Linked DNA regions of Homo sapiens: region 1 is linked to region 2. Evidence: promoter capture Hi-C in 16 types of primary human blood cells and fetal thymus (Javierre and others, 2016). All regions are on one chromosome and are shown on one strand. Each heading gives the region's core, a stretch centred on a gene start or on the middle of the fragment in contact. The rest is flanking DNA. Distances are from core to core; before and after follow the strand shown.

Region 1 (4,449 bases), core at 291-2,790, 37 kb before region 2:
TAGAGACAGGGTTTCACCGTGTTAGCCAGGATGGTCTCAATCTCCTGACTTCGTGATCCACCTGCCTTGGCCTCCCAGTGCTGGGATTACAGGTGTGAGCCACCGGGCCCGGCCCGCCATGACTATTTTTTTTTTTTAAAGTTTTGTACAGATATCGTCTGGCTATGTTGCCCAGGCTGGTCTCGTCCTCCTGGCCTCAAGCAATCCCCCCAGCTTGGCCTCCTAAAGTGCTAGGATTACAGGCATTAATGACTGTGCCAGGCCTAAAATGATTTTTTTAAGGATAATTTATATGACATTAAATGCTTGTATTTTAAAAAGAAAGAAAACTGCAAAATAATGAGCTATGTGATCAACAAAGAAGATAGGAAAACAGTACCAAAAAAACATATAAATCAGAGGGAAAGGAATAGTACACAGGTAAAAGCACAAATTAATGAAATAAAAACAACTGTCATAATTTAATAGAAAAGGAATACAAAAAGGGTTAAGAAACAAATTTGTTTCTACGTAAAAATAAGGAAGTCTTTCTGACAAAAGTGATATAGTAGAAATAGAGAGATGACCTTTAACAATATTAGGGATAAGAAAAGGTCATGGCTACAGATCTACAGTTCTAATAGATATGAAACAGAATCACAGGAGAATACTATGACCAAAAAATAAATGGTCATATTTCTACAAAAATGTCACTTAGCTGACAAAAAATAATTAGAAAATCTGAATAGATCTTTAACTATTATGGGAATTAAATGAAAATTTGAATATTTTCATCTCCTAGTGCATCAGCACACCTCCTCCTATGCCCCTATCTTCATCCACACTCACAAAACCACAAATCCAGCTCCAGCTAATTTTAGAGGAACCTTAATCAACTATGCAAAGGACAGGAAATCCAAATATGACATAAACTTTCCAAAGAATAGAAAATGAGTGTATCTCTAAACACATTTTATGAAACTAGTAAAACCTCTATATCAAAACCGAAGAAAGACAACATGAGAAAGGAAAATTATAGGCTCATCTTTAATATGCAAAAGAATACATTAGAACTAAATTGGGCTTGTTTTAGAATGCAAAGAAGTTTTACTATTATAAAATATTTTAGTGTATTTCATCGCATTAATAGATGAAAGTCATGTGATTATCCCAATAAGTGCAGAAAAAGTATTTGATAAATATGCAATACTGATTTACAATAAAGAAGACTAGGAATAAAGGAGAAATCCCTGAATCCTGTGAAGAGTTTCTACCAAAAACTTACAGCAAATGTCATATTAAGAATAAAACCTTTGAAGTACTGTCCTATTACTGTCATTGTTTCTATTAAATGTTTGCTGGAGGCCACACCTAGTGCAAAGTGCAAACAAGTATAACTATTAGCAGTGAAGAGACAAAATTATTATTGTCATAGGGAAGGCCTATCAGCTTACTAAGAAAATCTAAAAAGAACATATAGGCAAATTACTTGACACTAAAGAAAGTTTAATTACGCTGTTGAAATACAAGATTAACACGTAAAAATAATCTGCTTTTCTTTATATAGCATAAGCAAAGATAAAATATAGCTTAAACCATAGCATTTAAAATTGTGATAAAATTATATGGAACCTAGGAATAAATTTAACAAGAGATGTGCAAGAGTTTCTAGAGAAAACTTAGTAGTTTCATGAAACAGAGAACCTAAATAAATAAGGAGCTATATTATGTTCATGGAGGAAAATATTATAAATATAACTCTGTCTTCATTAACCTATACATTCAATGTAATTCCAAGCAAAATTACAGTAGAGCAATTTCCTTTGACTTTGACAAGTTCTTGCTATAATTCATACCTCAAAAAAGAGTAAAAAATAATTAAGACATTTTCCAAAATGGTGGAGAGAACCGATATCCAGGTTTACTCTAAAATTGTAGAAATTAAAATGGTATAATATCTGTGCAAGTAAAGACAAATAGAAAAATGTACAGCACAGAACAGCCCTACTCATATGGAAAAATAAAATACTACAGAGGTGAAAATCAGAGCACAATATGGATTATTCAATAGATTGATGCTGGGATGACCGATTATCTATATAGAAAAAAAAGCCCATGACCTCAGATACCAGCCTTACATTATACCCAAAACAATGGGTTAAAGGCAAAAATATTAAAGATTTAATTAAAAAATTAGTACAGAACCTGTTATGACCCTGAGCTACAGAAAGATTTCTTAAAGAAAAACTAAGGTATAAAACTTAAAGAAAAAGATTGGTAAATTTTACTACATTGAAATTAACAACTTCTGTACAAACAAATTGCAGAAGAATATTTACTTATATAAACATTTATATAATGTTTTAAAACATGTAAACCCGTACATGTATTGCTCCTGGTTATATGTAATAAAAATATAAAGACATGCAGGTGGATTATAAACTCTAAATATAGATAGTGATTTCTGATAGAGATGGAGGCAGGGGATAGGTATATGGGGTCTTAATTGTCTGTGCAGTATTCCATTTTTACTAAATAAAATATGACAAAATGTTAAGATTACAAAAATAAGTGATAGATCCATGGGTGTTTTACATATTGACTTACAATTTTTTCTATGCTTGAAATATTTAATAATCCACTTTTTTTAAAAAAAGAAAAAAATGAAAACTGAAATATAAGAAGAGAAAGATGGCAAGACAAAGATGGTAAGAATTTACGTGTGTGTGTGTGTGTGTGTGTGTGTGTGTGTGTGTGTGTGTGTTGGGGGTGCCTAGTGCGGAGAGGGAGGGATAACTATAAAATGAGTTCAAACGTTCAAACTATCAGGACTAGAGCTCTTCAGATGTAGACAGTGGAAGTCTGTGAGAAGACTTAATAGAATTATGCAAAATTATAAATTTCTAGAATAAAGTGAAAAATATATGCTTATTAAATATTAAGGAAAGATGCTAGTGGTTCCTTTTTCATTTTAGTGAAGCAACTTGAGGAAGCATTCAAAATTAATATCATTTTGTTCAATAGCTAATGAAATTACCAAACATTTCAAGATTGGGACTATAAATGAATTAAATATTAAGTACATATTATGAATTTATGATCTAAAAGAAAATATATGTGTCAGAAAAGCTGATATATATTAAACCTTGAATTCAGAATGGAGCATTTCATATTCTGTTGTGTTAGGAACAGGTGCCTAGATGAGGAAGGCCATGTGACTGACAGCAATTTGTAGAGTCTCACATAAGAAATTGCTCAAAAGGCCTGTAAATTCTGACCTTCTCATGTTACTAATTATAGAATTGAGGCACAGAGAGATTGCACAATTTGCTCAAGGACACAACTAATTTGAGGCACAATCAGGACTATAAATCTATGATTTCCATCCCAGGAATTTCACGTTAAGTGATTCTGCCTTACATTTTTATAAATTTAGAGGGTTAACTGATTACAATGCCTACATTCACTTTGAACTTGCATAATGTTATTTTCTTCCTTTTTAACTATGATTGATAGCTAATATATTATCTGACGATGTAAGTACAATTTTTAAAAAGTGGTCTTTCTTAATTACAGTTAACTTTTTTCAGAGTTTCTTTGTGACAGGAAAGAGAAATTTGATATATTTATTTTACTTTAAAAATGTGCCAAAATCCACAAAAGGAAACATTATCACTGTATTTATTTTAAAAAAATTAAAAATCATTTATATTGGTCAAATTGGGGATTTCAAAATATGCCCATTAGCCACTAGGTGTCATCATAGGCCATTGTAATTAAAAGCCAGTATGTAATTTCCTTGAAAAGTTAATAGCAAAATTTTTGCCGAAATATTGACCCTTTTATAGATCTAGATACATAACTCTATATTAATATATTTAATAAATATACTAGGGATAAAAAATATATTTAAATAAATATAAATCAAATGTTTTTATATTTGTATTGAATATAGTAATATTCTATATTTAAGCACTAGGTGGAAAGATTAATCAGAAATAGATTTCACATAGTTATTATCATAGCCCATGAATAAGAACTTATGATTATAGTACTGACGATTTTAGTGACGTAAACACTATGTTTAATCAATGTTAACTAAAATGACAACATTTGTCTTACCTTGGGATTCCACTTGCATGTTGCTTTGTCACGAAAGAGAAGGTTGCGGGTAGACACAAGATCAGCCGCTATTGGTTCTGTTTCAGGGTGGTGGAGGAACATCAGAGGCAATAGTTCTGCAGGCTTGAAGGACATTATTGGGCCTGGCTGACTGGAAGCAAATCAGGCATCTATTTACCCCTGTATGCCACTTTGTGATACTATGCTTCCAACTTATACAAAGGTTTGTTTTCTTCAAGTAAGATGTGAACTTGCTGGTTCTTGGCTGAACATGAAGGTGTTAGTTTTTAGAATGGATCTGTCATATTCCCCATGGACTTTGAGTATTTAGTCACTTGTTTCAGAAAA
Region 2 (4,754 bases), core at 69-2,568:
TGTTTAATTTTATCTCCATAATGATCTATGAAAATACCTAATTGTCTTGGCAAATTTGTCTAAAAGGAGTTGGCAGAATTGAGTGCTAAGTCAGCATTATTAAGAGGCATACTATGCTGAAGTTATCAGTAACTACAGACAAACTAGAATACAACCTTTTGCATACTATCCTACCCAGAATACTATATTTAGTGAAGCCATTCAATTTTTTAGAGTATTTAGCTGAACCCAGAAACATTCAATAGTTATACTTACTTTGGTTGGCAAGAAGTTTTTCCAGAGATTGAGACCATTGCATTACTTCAGCAGCAGAAAGTCTGCAGGGGACAAAATGTACATACATTAGTCAATTTTTAAAATGTAAGCACAAATGAAATAAGAATGGCTGTTACACTTTGATAACTTCACAAACTGAAACTGTAGTTCTAATAAATATGTTAAAATTTATTCACAAAATGCAAAACTTCCCTTAGAGTTACTATAGTTATGAAAAAAAAAACCTGCCAATAAAATTTGAAAAAATCCAAATAGATAAAGTCCAATATGTGTGTGTACACATTTGTATTCAATTTACATTGGTACTGATAGTCTAATTTTATTTGGCATGTTACTTAAAAGAAATGAAGTCTACTGTGCGCAGTATTTATCCCTTGCTGGGATATAGAGATAATGCATAGGCTTCTCTTGTAAATGATAATGATAGTTTAGTGTATTAGTGTACTTACACATCCTTGGACTTGGAAGATTTCATTCCAGATTCCAGATGTGGGATCATAGATCTCAGGTATGCTTTCATATCCATTCCACTACAAAAGACATAAAAGTGAATATTCATATTTCTTCAGAATTCATTTTATTTGTAAAAAGACATAGAATAAATTTCTCTAAGGAATAAGGCAATACTAAAAATGGTTGATACAACATTTTGCTATAGAACCCATTTTTATGAGCCTGTGTAGAGAAAAACTCCTACCCAATTTAATGCCATATCAAGATTTATTTTTTAATGCAGCTGAATATTACTTATTACTCACAACAGGCAATTAACTCCTCTGATCTGGCTAAACTAAATGCTCACACTCTCTTCCATTCATTCTCAATCCTTCTGCCATTAAAGATAACTTGTTAAAATTCACAAAGTGAGACTCTGAACAAACTTACAAAGTCTTTGGCCTCCTTTTTTGCATTTTGTCGTCTAGAAGTGAATGAGTGGTTCCTTTCAATTCCTTTGGGTTAGCAGAGAAGAACATTCCTGGCATTTTGTCTAACTTTGGAGTGGAGATGGCTGCTGCGCGCATGGTGCTCTTAGCAAATATGCGCTAGTCAACGTCTCTGCTGCTTTATATAGTAGAATGCAGACAGGCACTTGCTGTTTAAAGGAGTCTGTTTATCAAGTGATGTTACCACAGACACTGGAAGTTCCCCTTTTCTTGGTGTGCTGTGACGTGTATCTTGAAAAAAAAAAAGCATACAGTGGTGTCTTGTGGTTGAAACTTAACCAAACGAGAACAGGTCACTTGATTAGAAAGAAAGAAAATTAAACATACAGAGGTACACACACATATGTCACATGTCTAAAGCATTAACAGCATCAGTCTTTGGTTCTGGAGGATGTTTGTTTATTTTAAAAAAGTTGCATGTTTCAATAAACTGTTTCATTTGGCGTATTAATTTATCATATAGAAACTCACATAGAAATTCATCACATAGAGTTGTATCTTACTCCATGCTTTGGATAGTCCTTGACTATAAAATTCATCTGATCAAAATATTTTAAGAGTTCTCTTCTTTTCTGCAGGAAGCAGGGCAAAGTAAACAAATAATTTTTGTTTAATTATTTTGCACATATCTGATAGGAGGGAAAGTTATAAGAGGCTATCTTCACATTTTCCCACTCCAATTCTCATCCCTTATTTCCATGGCAGGAAATTTCCATGTTAATATTTTCCAAGGTGTGTGCTAGACATCGACTGGCAATACATAGGATGATTTTAAGGGGTGCATGGTTTTTAATATTATTTTCATATTTATTAAGAATATAACTAGTATATCAAACTTTGATTTTTGCATATTTTGCATATTAGGAAAAAATAAAGTTTAATTAAAACCAATCATAAATAAATAAATGTTTAATTGTATACAAATATGACATAATTTGTAAACATACTGATACCAAGGTCACAGTATCAGAGGAAAAACTGCTCAAGGTAAAATAAAAGTCTATTTGGATAGACCAATAATGTGTACTTCTTAGGTAATGATCTTTCACATTTTGGCAGTATCTCTGGAGAGATAACAGTTTTAGCTTTAATTGAGATTAAAGTTTAAAACACAAACAAAACTCAAGGAACTAGATGACTAATCATTTATAAGGATAGAGAAGTTAGTAAAATATAAGCTTTCAAAAGTTTATATAACAAGTGTGGCTTATTTATAGAGTACCCAGTTTAACTTAAGCCTCCTTGGATTTTACCCCTGGAAGGACAATACTTTCCTTTAAAAGGACAAAAAAGCATTTACTTAGTGAAGCTTCTGATGGTATTAGGTAAAGCTGATAAAAGGGAGGGGAGTATTAATTTTTCTGTTCTGGTTCTATCGTCAGGATAAAGAATATTTGAAGAAAACACATTTACAATATTATAAAATTCACTTATACACAGTCATTAATTTCATTATAATGAGCTCATTATATTGTATGTAACAAGCATCATTTTATGTTGGGAAGATAACATAAGGCATTAAGAAAGATAACTGGTGAGATGAGCTGGCCACTTTGGAAGTGACCCTAATGAGACCGATGAAACTCAAAGACAGATGACATAAAGGCATTTGGTTGTATACTTCCTGTGGTTCAGTCCATACTTAATTTCCTGTTAAAATCTTCAACATTGCTCATGTTTGTTGATCTAGTATCCTCTCACTCCTCTAAATAATTGTGAGTAAGTTATGTTAGAGTAAAATGATTTAAAAATTATTTTTAACAGCCCACTAGTATTATCATCCAAATATACTGACAGTTTCCAAAGAACAAGAGCAGCAGCAAAAATTATGGGGCCAAGTAAGTTTGGGAAATGTTGGACTCCTAACTTGTTAAAGAACTAAACCCTCTTTAGATAGGGAAAATAGTTTTTTGAAATAATGTGTTTTTTTGACACTATGTTAAGAAACTCTGGTCTGAGATCAAAATAAGTTTTTGCCTGTAGTGTATTTAGGAACTGCTCTGATGCTCCCAACATTTTGCTACCCCTATCCCAATATACATTTTGAAGCGCAAGCATTTACAACTGCATGCTTCCACACTTGAATAGAAATATAAACTCTTGAAAGAGGGAGTCCTTTCAAAATTCCTGTATCACAATTGGCTGATGAGGTCACCTTAGTCATGCAATAAAGCAGCTGCTCTCTCAGAGGCTGTTTGCTCATCCACCCAAAGTCTGTGTGTTCCAGAACAAGGCAAATTTGGTCAAGTTGTATCAGCAAGTGTGACAAGTGCATGGCAGGGCATTGAAAGTTCCCTATTAATTTTAAAGAGAGTGCCACTATCTGGCCCCTCTTTGTAAACTTCACTAAGAAAAGATAAACTGTCAAATTGTAACTTTATTGAATCAATGACTTTGGTTGAAATAGTAGAGGATTTCAAAAACGTCAGTAGAAGAAACAGTGGGTCTCACGATCTGGGTTTCAGTTTTCCCTCTTTGAAACTGTGCTAAAACATCTAGGTTTGAGTTTCTAGGAAAAGGAATACTTCATGTAGTCTTAGTGTTATCTTTTTTTTTAAAGAAAAATTAATGGACTTCATTTTTAGGGAAGTTTTAGGTTTACAGTAAAATTGAGTGGAAAGTACAGAGTTCCCACAACTCCCCACCTTTCACCTTGCCTCCAGCTCCACCTCCAGCACCATACCTCGTTAGTGTGAAATATTTGTTATAATTGATGAACCTACAGTGACACAGCATTATCATCTAAAATCTATAGTTTACATTAGAGTTCACTCTTGGTGCTGTACATTCCATGAGTTTGACAAATGTATCATGATATGTATCCATCATTATAGTACCATACAGAATACTTTTCCTTCCCTAAAAATCCCAGTGTTATATTTTAAAATACCTAGGAGATTGGTTCAGTAAGACATTTCAGATTATGGCTGTTGATATTGATAGGAAAAATAAGGAAAATTTTAATCTTTGCTGAACTGATTTGAATGGAAACATTTGGTTTCAATTACTCCAATTACTGGAATACTAATAGGGAGTGCTTTCCTTAAACCTGATGTTGTTTGAACTTTTAAAATGTTGCTAAAATCTTATTGTGGATATTAGAATTGTGAGACAAGGGGTAATGATGAGTATAATATTCTATTTTAAAATAAAAATGTATCCATACTGGAAAAGTCAGTGACGTGGAAAGATAGCTTGATCCATTGAAACAAAATGTTTCGATTCAACAAAGTTTAATTGCATCCCTACAGTGTATCACACATAAAGCACTGCAGATACAAAGATGAATGAATCTCTGTCTTAAGGGGTTCACTGTGTAGTGGGGCTGACAGATGTTTGTGAGAGGTGCCATCAGAGAGGAATGTACAGAGAAAAGAACACAGAGGAGTAATTACCTCTGGAAGTATGAGAAAGGAAGCAAAGTACTGCTGTCTTTACTGTAAAATCAACATGTATCTATTCTTTGCTTGTTTCTGCATTTGTGTTTAGCATCCCTTGGAAAGTTCAAATGGCTGCAATGGAGAAACTGGTCTC

The links. The method cuts DNA at HindIII sites, captures the fragments that hold promoters and counts their contacts. A CHiCAGO score of 5 or more calls a contact.
Region 1: a fragment that was not itself captured here is called in contact with the fragment with the promoter of RGS1 in region 2 in 1 of 17 cell types (total B cells); the score reaches 5.7 in total B cells.

What each region holds. Positions count from the first base shown.
Region 1 is chr1:192,609,589-192,614,037 of GRCh38, reverse strand. The region is part of intron 2 of LOC105371664 (a long non-coding RNA gene); the gene reads left to right. LOC107985241 (a long non-coding RNA gene) reads right to left here. Exons shown (of 2, transcript XR_001738348.2): 1 at 4,102-4,449. Among named protein-coding and RNA genes, the nearest start is that of RGS13, 24 kb to the left of the region's middle. The HindIII fragment of the contact is 8,586 bases long and covers 1-4,449 here.
Region 2 is chr1:192,572,337-192,577,090 of GRCh38, reverse strand. RGS1 (regulator of G protein signaling 1) reads right to left here and starts at 1,318. Exons shown (of 5, transcript NM_002922.4): 1 at 1,162-1,318; 2 at 726-806; 3 at 256-317. The coding sequence starts at 1,298. The region is part of intron 3 of LOC105371664 (a long non-coding RNA gene); the gene reads left to right. RefSeq lists an enhancer at 1,394-1,473. The HindIII fragment of the contact is 3,705 bases long and covers 1-2,400 here.